2 separate regions of the Homo sapiens genome follow, and region 2 is linked to region 1. Evidence: promoter capture Hi-C in 16 types of primary human blood cells and fetal thymus (Javierre and others, 2016). All regions are on one chromosome and are shown on one strand. Each heading gives the region's core, a stretch centred on a gene start or on the middle of the fragment in contact. The rest is flanking DNA. Distances are from core to core; before and after follow the strand shown. Region 1 holds the start of ZNF367 (zinc finger protein 367). Region 2 overlaps TSTD2 (thiosulfate sulfurtransferase like domain containing 2).

Region 1 (6,941 bases), core at 1,594-4,093:
TCACTCTGTCCCCCAGGCTGGAGTGCAATGGCGCAATCTCGGCTCACTGCAACCGCCGCCTCCCGAGTTCTACCAATTCTCCTGCCTTAGCCTCCCAAGTAGCTGGGATTACGGGCGCCCGCCACCACGTCCGGCGAATTTTTATATTTTTAGTAGAGACAGGGTTTCACCATGTTGGTCAGGCTGGTCTCGAACTCCTGGACCTCAGGTGATCCACCCGCCTCAGCCTCCCAAAGTGCTGGGATTACAGGCGTGAGCCACCGCACCTGGCAAGTTTCTTCAATTTTTGTTAAAGAGTTGAGGTCTTGCTTTGTCACCCAGACTGAAGTGCAGTGGTGCTATCATGTCTCACTGTAGCCTCAAACTCCTGGTCTCAAGTGATCCTCCTGCCTCAGCCTCCCATGTAGCTACGTATATAGGTGCAGGCCGCCAGATGCGGTCTATGTTGCCCAGGCTGGTCTTGAACTCCTGGTCTCAAGTGATTCCCCAGCCTCAGCCTCCTGAAGGGATCACAGGCATGAGCCACCTCACCAGGCTCTGTTATGGTTTTTTTTTTTGTTGTTTTTTTTTTTTTTTTTTGAGACGGATTCTCGCTCTTTTGCACAGGCTGGAGCGCAGTGGCCTGATTTCAGTTCCCTGCAAGCTCCGCCTCCCGCTTCACGCCATTCTCCTACCTCAGCCTCCCGAGTAGCTGGGACTACAGGCGCCCACCACCAAGCCCGGCTAATTTTTTGTATTTTGAGTAAAGACGGGGTTTCACCGTGTTAGCCAGGATGGTCTTGATCTCCTGACCTCGTGATCCGCCCGCCTCTGCCTCGCAAAGTTCTGGGATTACAGGCGTGAGCCACCGCACCCGGCCCAGGTTCTGTTCTTTCAAATGTTTACTGAGGTGCAGTTTCAAGAGCTGAAGTGTATAAAAACCTATAGTTTTATAACCTTATAATTATTTAATAATAATGCCACATAAAATATATCAATTTCCTCAAAACCCAAACAATGTAGTTTCAACATCCTTGTGACTGCATGTAAAATGATCAAACTCGTTTCAACTTATACATTATGTGCTGATACAGATGCAGTTATCCACTATGTGATTTACTTGTTATCTCTTGCAAATTGCTTATCTTATACAGCCACTTAACAAATGGAACCTGGATATTACCCTTCTGTTAGCACCATTCATTCATTACACAAATATTTTTTGAGCACCTTTATTGAGCATTTACAGAATGTAAGGTAGTAAAGTCATATAGTCTTCTAGATAGAAATACTCCTGGCTCACCTGGAGCTTACAGTCTACAGAGTTCAGTATAAGTCAGCAGAAAGTCACCCCAAACACATGCAGGACTAAAAGCCACAAAACCTCGACCTAGTCCCCGCTCTTCCACTACTGAGCTGTGCCATCGTGGGAAGGTCGCCTCACTAATCACTGTAAGCCCCAGCTGCCTGATCTGTAAAATAGGTTTGAACCAGTGGTAACGACCTTCCCAGCTTTAAGCAGTCGGAGACTGCAAGCAATTTTAGCGTCCCATTCCACTATGTGCTCTCAACACCTAGCAAGTAGTATGCTGGATAAATGAAAGGCAGCGAAGGCACAACTTCAGCCGCAGAACAGGCCCAGAAGTCCTTTCTTGCTCTTCGGCTGTCTCTGCAGGGCATCTTTTAACAGGGCGAGGGCGATCTGCAGTAATGGAGCAAACACTGTGCGCTCCCTGCCCTCTCGCAGTCGGTGGAACAACTCAAGGCCCTCATCCCTCTCGTTTCCTCTCGGAACTGAGGACTCGGCAGCCCGCCGGGAGGATGTCAGTGGCCGTTGACCCGGCCTCCCCAGCGACCCCGGGCCGCGCTCCCGCCCACTGCACCTGCCGCAAGGACGGTCTCCCGCGCCGCTCCCGCCTGTCACGTGACAGGCCCCCCCCGACTGGGGCCGGTTTTTGGCGCGCGGCAGTGACGTCAGCATCCTGTCAGCCGCAGCCCCCGCCGTAGCCGGATCGACCTCGCGTTTTCAACTCCGCCCCGCCCGCCGCACCGTTAACGGGCCCCGGCTGCCCCACGTCCCGCCCGCCCGCCCGCCCGCGCCGCTCACCTTGAGGTGGCCGCTGTCTGGGCTGCTCGCTTCCTCCTCGTCCTCACCTCCCGAGGCGGCGGCGGAGGCCGAGGCGGCGGGCGGGGGCGCGCCCCGGCCACGAAGCCCCGAGTGCTCGGCGGCTGCGGCTGCAGGCAGGGCGGCCGAGGCGGCGGCCCCCGCGGCCCCAGGGCTGAGCGTCACGTTGTGTGCGTTCTCGCCCCAGCGCCACGGGTACACCATGAAGTCGCTGAAGCCGGGGCTGGTGGGGATGAGCGGCGGCGGCGGCTCCGGCTCCCCTCCACCGCCGCACGTTGGCTTGATCGGGGTCGTCCTGATGACCGACACCAGCACCCGCTTCGGGGAGTCGTGGCAGAAGATGACGGGCGGCGGCGGCGGCGGCGGGTTCTCCGCCATGGGCGCCTCGAAGCCCCGGATCATCGCCCGGCCCGACCCCCAGCTCCGGCGGCCCCGGGCCGCACTCCTGAGCACCGCTCTGCCCCTCACTCGCTCTGCTCCGAGTCGCAGGCTCAGTCCTGCCGGCTCATGGCAGACTGACGTTTCCCGGAATCCTGCGCAGCAGCCACCTAACTAGTTGAGCAGACGGCACCGGCGGGCAGGGCTGGACCCCAGCCCCAGGTCAAGCGCGCCCTCCGCTCTTTGTACTCCGCAGCGCAGGCTGCAGGGGTGGGAAGCAGCGGGCGGCCCGGCCCTTGCGGTGACAGGAAAGCAGGACGCGCGGCGCTGAGCCCCCAAAAATAACAACCTGCCGCCGCGGTGCCTGCCCCGGCTTTTCCCGCGTTACATTTCGCGCCTGGGCGGAACCAGTCACCGCGAGGCCGCTGCCCGCTGGCCGCACCGGCGAGTGACAGGCGGCGCGAGCCAATGGCCAGGCCTGGCCTTCTTTCCAGCCGGCCGGGGCGGGGCCGGGTCTGCGCGCGGGTCCTTCCCACCTCGCCATTGGCCGCCGCTCTTATATTTTTTTCTGTCTGGAGGGCCAACAGCGTTCGAAACTCCAGTGGAGCGCGCGGCGTCTCCACTCGCCCGGACACACCCGCCTGCCGCCCCGCCCCGCCGTCCCTCCGCGTGGTTAGTCCGGGCCAGGGAGACAAGGGCGGCGGGGAGGGCGGCAAGAGGGCGGCTGATTGGACAGCGGCGGGGCGGGGTCGGGGGGGGTGGTGATCGTTGGGCGGTGGAGGCGCGCGCCCCGCTCGGCCCCGCCCGCCGTTGGTTGTTGGGCCGCGGTTCCCGCGCGCAGGGAGTTTAAAGGGCTGGGGCCCCGCCGCCCGCCCCGCCCTCGGTCCCACCACCCGCCCGGCGGCTGGAGTCTCTGCTGCCCGAGGTCCTGATGGGCACCCGGCGTGCCTGGTTTCTTAATCGAGTTCCGTCTGCTCAGCTGTTGCACGCTCTGTGAACCAGCCCTGTCAGCACCGCCCTGACTCCTCCGGGCCGATTGTGGGCCTCCGGTTCCCCATCTGTGGAAAGGGGAGAGTCCAGGAAGTGGCCTCCGAAGTCCCTGCGGGCCGCTCGCGGCGCGGAGGCCACAAGAGCCGGGCGAGAGTAGACACTCTCACCCTGGACTGATGCCCCGAAGTTGCCTCGGGGATCTCCCCACCCCGGCGACCCCGCTCTACCGAGCGGCTGCTCCGGGAGTCGGGGCAGCGCCCTACTTTGCTCGGCCCCCACCTGCCCCGGCCGCGTCCTAGTACTCGCGCCGGGACGCGCGGAGCCCCAACGTCCTCTGCCCGCCCCGCCCCAGCCCCGCCTGGCTGGCGCCGACCGCGGCCCGGGTGGGGCTCGCAGGCTGCAGAGGAAGGACCGGGCGGAGGGGTTGCCCGGCTTCCTACCCGCTAGATGTGGCCTGGGGAGCTGCGTTTTGTTCTTGGGAATACAGATTCCCAGGCACCGCCTGATTCGCGGTAGGGGCTCAATAAATATTTGCTGAATGGATGAATGAATATCCATTGGTTAAGGGTTAGGATTGGTAATTAAGTTAGAACACGACTGTATAATAACAGATAACTAAGCTGAATAGCTTTTCTCTCTGTGAAAGACACACAAATGCACAGCTATGACTAAATTAAGCCACAATTGTTTAAAAACAAATAAAGGAAACTGTACTGATATGAACAATTTCAAAAATGTATTTTTATTTTAAAAGGCAAAACAAGCAATAGTGTGATTTTATGTAAAATTGTTAAAGTGGGGAAAATACGTTTTTACTTTTAGACGTACATAAAATATCTGGCAAGATGCAAAAGAAACATGGATCATGGAGGGAAATTGTGTGGCTGGGAACAGAAGTGAAAAGATTTCAAGAAATACAATATATAACTATCTTTTGAACTTTGAACCAAGTGAAAGTATCCTTTTAAGAAATGAAACAGTATATAGCCTCCATTTTCTGGAGGCCTACTACAAAAATAGCATATATGTACTGATACACAATAATACATATGGATGTTTCACAGTTCACTCAACAATTGGGTAAGGAAGATATTTTTCCCATTTTATAAATGAGAAAAGTTGAGGCTTGTACAAGATTACATAATAAATCCTTTGGAAGAATAAGTCTGTACTGCCTGTGGATTATATTCAGTGTCTGCTGAGCAAAAGGAGGAAAAGGCTGAAAAATGGGACTCACACATTTCTCGGTCCCGTTTCTCATATTCCAAAACTTTCAGGGTTTAGGGGCAAATTTCATATTGTAATGGTTGATCTAGAAAGTTGAAAGTTCAGCCCTACTTTCACCTAATTTAGTAAACATACATTTTGTTTTTACAGTTTAATACCAAAAAACATATTTTTCTGAATCAGTTGGAAGGGAAATGTTATCCATCTGTTTTATACTTGACAAGTAGTGTAAAGAAAAAAGTGATCTATCCATCATGGACACTCGAATTAGGGGTTGAGCAAAATCCAACAGATTAATCACCAACAAATAGTTACTGTTTAACATTCAGAGCATGCCCCAGAGGGCAAGATGAATCATCCAGCACAGGATGCTGACTTTCTGCTTCTAAAAATTGCCCTTCATCAACAGTAACCTGGCAACTCCACTTGCTCTCTTCCCCAAGAGAATGAAAGACATGCCAGGAATGTGTGAACTGGGCAGAAGGTGATTCCAGGAGCAAAGCTGAGGTCATACCAGATCTTTGCTTGTTTGGCTCCATTTTCATGCAATGAAGAAGCTGTCTGAAGTGTATGGATCATATTCCTGATGTCTTTGTTCTGTCTCAGATATTAACAGCCCATAATGTCAGAGGCCTGTGAACCAGAGCAACTCCATTTTAAAAAGGAGCTGGGTAAAATGAGGCTGAAACCTACTGGGCTGCATTCCCAGACGGTTAAGGCATTCTAAGTCACAGCATTAGATAGGAGGTCAGCACAAAATACAGGTCATAAACACATTGCTGATAAAACAGGTTGCAGTAAAGGAACCGGCCAAAACTCACCAAAACCAAAATGGCCATGAGAGTGACCTGTGGTCCTCCTCAACTGCTACACTCCCACCAGCGCCGTGACAGTTTACAATGCCATGGCAACGTCAGAAGGTTACCCTATATGGTCTAAAAAGGGGAAGCATGAATAATCCACCCCTTGATTAGCATATCATCAAGAAATAACCATAAAAATGGGCAACCAGCAGCCCTCAGGGCTGCTCTGCCTATGGAGTAGCCATTCTTTATTCCTTTACTTTCTCAATAAACTTGCTTTCACTCTGCACTGCGGACTCGCCCTGAATTATTTCTTGTGAGAAATCCAAGAACCCTCTCTTGGGGTCTGGATCAGGACCCCTTTCCGGTAACAACAATACATACTAAATCTGAAAAATACTGAAACCTATCTCAGGATACTTACTATATTACTAAAGTAGCATTTTCAACTCTTAAAAATATAGGCCCCTTCAGCTGGGCGCGGTGGCTGACAGCTATAATCCCAGCACTTTGGGAGGCCGAGGTGGGCAGATCATGAATGAGGTCAGGAGATTGAGACCATCCTGGCTAACAGGGTGAAACCCCGTCTCTACTTAAAATACAAAAAATTAGCCGGGCGTAGTGGCGGGCGCCTGTAATCCCAGCTACTCGGAAGGCTGAGGCAGGAGAATGGCGTGAACCCGGAAGGTGGAGGTTGCAGTGAGTGGAGATCACGCCACTGCACTCCAGCCTGGGCGACAGAGCGAGACTCCATCTCAAAAAAAAAATATATATATATATAAGTAGATATATATATATATTTTATATATATAAGTAGATATATATATATTTTATATATATAAGTAGATATATATATTTTATATATGTATATATGTATATATATATATTTTATATATATGTATATATATATTTTACATATATATACCCCTTCTGATAAAGATAGAAACCTCAAACCCCGTTTTAAAAAAAATGTATTTTAAAGTTTCAAGATAAAATTGAAGTAAGACAAAGCAGCAGTTATTAAAGTCTATGTAAAACATAGCAGGCCAGGGGTGGTGGCTCACACCTGTAATCCCAGCACTTTGGGAGGCCAACGCAGATGGATCAACTGAGGTCAGGAGATCAAGTCCATCCTGGCCAACATGGTGAAACCCTATCTCTACTAAAAATCCAAAAACAATTAGCTGGGCATGGTGGCATGCGCCTGTGGTCCCAGCTACTGGGGAGGCTGAGGCAGGAGAGTCTTTTGAACCCAGGAGGCGGAGGTTGCAGTGAGCCTAGATCACGCCACTGAATTCCAGCCAGGGCGACAGAGTGAGACTCCATCTCAAAATAACAACAACAACAACAAAAAAAAGCAAGGTTTTTTGTTTCACTTTGTTTTTATTTTTAATTATATATATATATATATATACACATTTATATATAAATATATTAAA
Region 2 (6,941 bases), core at 1,373-3,872, 1.2 Mb after region 1:
CCTCAGGGGAACTGGAGAGGCTGCCCAAAGGCAACTTTGCAAGATCCTTGATACATGTCAAAGGCAGGCTCATGGGAGTCACAAAGTATATTATGTGCCTGGATGCCTTTAATTCATATTTTCTTAGACTCTCTCACCAGATTTCTGAGTTTTAGGACTTGGGTTTTCTCTGAAGCTGCCAGTACTGGGAGGAGATCCATGTGGCCACAGGTGGGCACACACAAGGTCCCCTTGGGAAATATACCACACTGTGGGAATGGGGAGATCTACCAATTCAGAGAACTCAGTTCTGGCTTTTACTTACTATTTTGCTTTCATAGAAGTTTCTGCAATCAAGAAGGATAGTATCACTTTGTTCTTGATTTGCCTGAGATAAAAACTTTTCTACTTCTTTATGAAATTCACCTGGGGATAAATGGATTCCTAAAACCAAACCAAAAAAATTATATTAAAACAAAGACAAAAAAACCAAAACCCAATCATGACTCACCCAGCCTGACTTACGTGTTGCTTTGTTTCTTTCCACCCAAATCTCTTCTCTTCATAATTACAACTGTCTGAAAAGAACACTACTTGATGATCATGATGAAATAACTTAGTAATTCCAGTAATTCCAGGTATCCTCAATCTCCCTCCTCCTAAAATGAGGGCAATGGAGACCTGGTAGTTTAGAAATAACTAGTCAAAGAATTTTGCATCCTCATACTTGGCCTAACCCTAGTGATAAAAACCAGGCAACTGGGATCTAAATTGCCATGTGAATTTGCTGGTCCATTGTATGGTCACTGGTAGGTCAGGAAATGGCCACTGCTCTATTGTCACTGTACATGGAGGAGCTGGGCAAGTACGTGGCTGACTACAGGCTTTGTAAACTGTTCTATATTAAGGTCGAACCCACGTTGAAGGCTAAGAACCCACAGGCAGGTGTGAGCAAAAAGTTATGGAATAAAGTTGGAATAGATACATTTTTAATGCAAAGGAGCAAGAAGAATGTGTCTAAGTGTGTGTGCATGAGTAAAAGAGAAAAGGGCAAGAGGGGTGGACAACAGAAACGACATATGAGAAAGAAAGTAAAGGAGAGAAAAAGACAGGAAAGCTAGAAGATGGGTAAGTATTAAAATACAAGGGGAAGCCTGGGGAACATAGCGAGACTCTGTCTCTAAAAAAAATTTAAAAAATTAGCTGGCCATGGTAGTGTGTGCCTGTAGTCTCAGCTACTTTGGAGGCTGATGCAGGAGGACCCCTTGAGCCCAAGAGATCAAGGCCTCAGTGAGCTATGATCACACCACTGTACTCCAGCCTGGGCAATAGAGCAAGACCCTGTCTCAAAAAATATATATACAAAGGGACTAATAGGAGAGAACCTCAGTCTCCTGGGGCTCTTTGCCTTGTAACTCTCTAGGATAGAAATATTCCCCTATCTTTGAGGGTCCAGAAATCTCAGTAGATTGTGAGGAACTTTTGGTGAATCTGCATTATGAGGTAGCCATGCCTCATGGGCAGGGGCTCTGGTGACTCAGTTACCTACCACTCATGATAAAGCTTTACAGCACCAAAGGAGCCTCATTCCCCTCAGAGAGGAACCCCAACAACCAATGAAACTACTCCACACCAAGGAGAGATGAGGGCCCAGAGCCAGGCCAAGGAATCTGGATTGCTACCTGCCTGAGTTATGGTTGTAATGAGAATGTAGTAAGGCCAGATTCTATATAAGGTACTGTCACACAATTACATGGATACAAAAAGAGTGGGGTGAAAAGGGAGATTCAAACATGGGACGTAGGCCAGGCATGGTGGCTCACACCTATAATCCTAATGCTTTGGGAAGCTGAGGCAGGCGGATCACCTGAGGTCAGGAGTTCAAGACCAGCCTGGCTAACATGGTGAAACCCCGTCTCTACTAAAAATACAAAAATTAGCCAGGTGTGGTGGCACATTCCTTTAGCTCCCAGCTACTCAGTAGGCTGAGGCAGGAGAACTACACAAAACTGGGAGGCAGAGGTTGTAGTGAGCATTCCAGCCTGGGCAACAGAGTGAGACTCCGTCTCAAAAAAAGGCCAGGCGTGGGTGAGGCAGCTCTCGCCTATAATCCCAGCACTTTGGGAAGCTGAGGCAGGTGAATCACTTGAGGCCAGGAGTTGCAGATCAAACTGGTCAACATGGCGAAACCCCGTCTACTAAAAATACAAAAAAAATTAGCTGGGCGTGGTGGCGCATGCCTGTAGTCCCAGCTACTCGGGAGGCTGAGGCAGGAGAATCTCTTGAACCCAGGAGGCAGAGGTTGCAGTGAGCTGAGATTGCGCCACTGCACCCCAACCTGAGCAACAGAGTGAGACTCCATCTCAAACAAACAAACATGGGATGAAAAGCATGGAAATGTGCTAAGACTTCTACCTGCAGGAAGCCACAGGAAACCAAACCTGTTCCCTGCTGCTATGATTGCAGTTGTTCTACTGGCCCTGAGAACGATTGTTTGGACAGTGACCAGCATGGATGTGTTTAAAAGACATCTCTTTACCAGGTGCGGTGGCTGATGCCTATAATTCCAGCACTTTGTGAGGCTGAGGTGGGCAGATCACTTGAGGTCAGGAGTTTGAGACCAGCCTGGCCAGTGTGGCGAAACCCCATCTCTACTAAAAATACAAAAATTACCCGGGTGTGGTGGCGCACACTTGTAATCCCAGCAACTTGGGAAGCTGAGGCAGGAGAATCGCTTGAACCCCGGGGGAAAAGGTTACAGTGAGCTGAAATCACGCCACTGCACTCCAGCCCAGGCAACAGAGCAAGACTGTCTCAAAAAAAGAAAAAGAGGTCCCTTTAAACTTCCTTCAAGTGAAAACAAGACAGCACTGCCTAGAGCCCACTCTCTGCCTGCAATGTCCTGCAGTGCCCAGGAAAAGCTGTTTGTAGTCATACTGCCTCCTGCTAAGATGGGAACAGTAAGCAGACAACAGCTCTTTCTGGCCCTCATCTCCCCATGCATGAGTCTCTTTCCCAGATGCCTGTATCCTAATCCCGTTTCCCCCTGGCTTCACTCTTAGACTTCTTTCAAAACTTTACATATTACAAAATGAACACCATGGAGTCAACCAGACCTTTGTGCTTCCTGATCAAAGAAGACAACAGTGCTTATGTAGTCTTGGTGGCGGGAGAAAAAGAAATCAAATTGGAATCTGATCAAGTCTCTAGTCCTGGTTGTTAATACAGTAGCTACTAGCCACATGTGGCTGACAAGCACTTGTGCTATAATAGGGGTGACATACATACTGAATCTCAAGGACTTAGCATGAAAAAAAGTAAACTAATAATTTTTTATATTGATTACATGTTGAAATAATATTTTTGATATACTGCATTAAGAAAACCATATTATTTAAATTAATCTCATCTATTTTTTACTTTTAAAGACATGGCTACTAGAAAATGTAAAATTGTGTAGCTCACATTATACTTCTATTAGCACTACTCTAAATCTAATGATCAACTTATAGGAAATAAAGAGGACAGAGAAATATATCTTGGGAATACAATTATTATTGTCCAGATTATGGGAAACTCTAAAGGTCAAATGATCCAGTTCCTTCAAAAATAAACTGCAAGGGGGGAAAAAAAGATGGAAACAAATCTATAGGTTGAAAGACACTTAAAGAGACATACTGATGAATCACAGTGAATGAACCTTATTTAAATCCTAATAGAAATGAAGCTTAAAAAGTATGAGACAACCGGGAATTGAGTGACTAAACCAACTAGATATTTGATAATTTATTAAGGAATCAGTTAAAATGTTTTAAGATGTGATATCGTTTTGCATCTTTTAAAACAAATTTTTATCTTTTAGACATACCTACTAAAAATATTTACAAATGAAATGGCCTGACATTGGGGTTGCTTTCAAAATAATCCAAGATGGGAGAAGGGATGGGGTATAGGTGAGAGCTGGCCATTAATCAGTTAACTGCTAAAGCTGCATGATAGGTACATAGAACTTCACTATATTATTTTCTCTACTTTTTTAATGTTTAAAATTTTTCATAGTAAAAACTACAATAAAACCCCCAAAAACCTGCCAAACAAATGTCTTTCAACCATTTACCATGGAGAAGATGGGGAAAGAACATTCTAGAGCACAGTGAAAACTGCTGTGGTGTTGAAAGCAACTTGTTTCCTGTAGCAAAAGGCCTATTTGCTCTATTCTGCTAATGAACTGTTTACAAGTAATAATTACACTCTTCCCAAACTGCTTGCTGTCTTTGGAAAGAGCAAACAACTAATTGATAAACCATCACCAAGAGGAATAAGATAGGTCACTCGAAGAGGTGAGTCTTCAACCCCACAGCACCACAGAGAAACAGTATAAGCACTGGATGCAGCCAAGTGTTAGCCACCCCACAGCTGCTTTAGAGAGGACTCATGACTGCTGCTGATCACAGTGCCTAGCTTTCTTATTTGTCTATTAAGTTTTGTCCCTGTGAATTAAAGCACAATCTTCTAAAAGCAAGCATACCAGGCTTCTTGTAGGAGATCTTTTTGGGGCTGATCCCCATGGGCACGATTTCTTCAAATACACCAACACGCAATTCTGGAAAACAGTGAGCTCCTCCTTTGCTGGTCTAGCCAATGAGAAACAAAACAGAATACAGTCTTGCTGTCCCATCTCCAGGTATAAGACAAGTGCCAATATAAGAATGATGGTCTGTTTTGTAATAACAATAGCTGAAGTCTTAAAAAACCTCTAGTTAGGGCCCAGAATGTTCCAGATAATTCAACATTGATAAATACTTACTGCATACCTGCCATGTGCAGGAATGTTAAGCTGAAAAAGTGTTTCTTTAGGTGTAAGCATTTAATTATAAAACTGCAACACCGCTGAGCAATTCTAACATGTGACTATACCCGGTTTTCATTCTTTTCCTATCATTGCCAGCATGAACGCTAGCAAGGCATTTCCCATCACCTTATCACTTATTATGACAAGGTATAAAGTCACTCAAACAAAGCAGCCCACCTGTGAGAGCAACAACTTTATTCCCCCATGTGGTATGAAGTGTTAATCTTACAATTCCAGATTTACTAAAAACACAGTGATCTGCTGACCAGGCTGGTGGTCTCTCAAGTGAGCTAATATGTCCAAGATTTGGAGTCCCAGATTGCATGAGCTGTAACATTCTTATTTTATAAGAAGGGATACTGAGGTCTAGAGCACTAGCTGGTCCAAAATCATATGGTGACTCAGTGAAAGAATGGGGACGAGCATACTCCTTCTATTGTACTGTCTCGTAACCTAAAGAGAAAAGCACATTTAAAGGGGAAAGGGGGCAGGTGCGGTATCTCACGTCCATATCTCAGCACTATAGGAGGCTGACGTGGGAGGACTGCTTGAACCCAAGAGTTCCATACCAGCCTGGGCAACATAGTGAGACCCCGTCTCTACAAAAAAATTAGCCAGACATGGTGATGCACGCCTATGGTCCTAGCTACCTGGGAGGATCACCTGAGCCCAGGGAGGTTGAGGCTGCAGTGAGCCATGATCACGCCACTGCACTCCAGCCTGGGTGACAGAGCAAGACCCTGTCAAAAAACAAAACAAAAAAACTCCCCAAGCCCCAAAAAATAAAGGGGAAAGGGTATTTATTTGGCACTGCTTATTTCTCTACTTTGAACTCCTCTTCAATAACATGCACAGAGGCAGAAGCAGATGGCTCTAGATCCATTTAATTTTCATTTTCTCTTACCTTAAAATCATCTTTACACAGGTCATCCTTAAACAATGGGAAGGAAAGCATGACTTCCACATAAAGTCTGGTAGCCAATTTGCTTCCACCAACTGTCCCATTGATTCCTTCTGCAGCAATTCGAATCTGAGACACAAGACGGTGAAAAAGAGAACAGATTGTTCTTAGCTTGGTTATCTTTCCAGGGAAGAACAATAGGCTCATGTGTGTCAATGAGTTTAACAGGAAAAGCAGAGACGCTGATGAGGACACCAAAGTGTTACTGGACAAAGATATCTGTGTTTTTCTTTTTTATTTTAAACTTTTAAGTCCAGGGATACAAGTGCAGGTTTGCTCTGCAGGTAAAACTGTGTCATGGGGGTTTATTGTGCAGATTATTTCACCACCCAGGTATTAAGCTTAGTACCCCTTAGTTATGCTCCTGATCCTCTCCCTCCTTCCACCCTCCACCCTCCAAAAGGCCCCAGTGTCTGTTGTTCCCCTCTATGTGTCCACGTTCTCATAATTTAGCTCCCACTTATAAGTGAAAATATGTAGTATTTGGTTTTCTCTTCCTGCGTTAGTTTGCTAAGGATAATGGCTCCCAGCTCCATCCATGTCCCTGCAAAAGACATGATCTTGTTCTTTTTTATAGCTGCATAGTATTCCCACATTTTCTTTATCCAGTTTATCACTGATGGGCATTAGGTTGATTCCATGTCTTTGCTACTGTGAACAGTGCTGCAATGAACATATGCATACATGTGTCTTTATAACAGAACAATTTATATTCTTTTGGGTACATACCCAGTAATGGGATTGCTGGGTCGAATGATAGTTCTGTCTTTAGGTCTTTGAGGAATTACCACATTGTCTTCCACAACGGTTGAGCTAATTTACACTCCCACCTATAGTGTATAAGTATTCCTTTTTCTCTACAACCTCACCAGCATCTGTTATTTTTTGACTTTTTAATAACAGCCATTCTGACAGGTGTGAGATGGATACCTGTTTGTTTTTTAAGACAGAGTCTTGCTCTGTTGCCCAGGCTGGAGTGCAATAGCACAATCTCGGCTCACTGCAGCCTCCACCTCCTGGGTTCAAGCGATTCTCCTACCTCAGCCTCCTGAGTAGCTGGGATTACAGGCATGCGCCACCAAGCCCAGCTAATGTTCGTATTTTTAGTAGAGACGGGGTTTCGCCATGTTGGCCAGGCTGGTCTCCAAC

The links. Contacts are between HindIII fragments. The CHiCAGO score rates a contact against its expected background, and 5 or more counts as called.
Region 2: a contact is called between a fragment that was not itself captured here and the fragment with the promoter of ZNF367 in region 1, in 1 of 17 cell types (neutrophils). The highest score is 5.4, in neutrophils.

The regions. Positions count from the first base shown.
Region 1 is chr9:96,415,527-96,422,467 of GRCh38, forward strand. It overlaps ZNF367 (zinc finger protein 367), which reads right to left and starts at 2,844. Exons shown (of 5, transcript NM_153695.4): 1 at 2,087-2,844. The coding sequence starts at 2,506. RefSeq lists enhancers at 1,411-1,650, 3,125-3,658, 3,659-4,192, 4,709-5,908, 5,725-6,511 and silencers at 2,011-2,250, 2,551-2,690, 2,801-3,460, 3,721-3,990. The HindIII fragment of the contact is 11,520 bases long and covers 1-6,941 here.
Region 2 is chr9:97,605,839-97,612,779 of GRCh38, forward strand. It overlaps TSTD2 (thiosulfate sulfurtransferase like domain containing 2), which reads right to left. Exons shown (of 10, transcript NM_139246.5): 5 at 5,736-5,861; 6 at 4,508-4,613; 7 at 305-423. Among named protein-coding and RNA genes, the nearest start is that of TSTD2, 24 kb to the right of the region's middle. The HindIII fragment of the contact is 2,164 bases long and covers 1,541-3,704 here.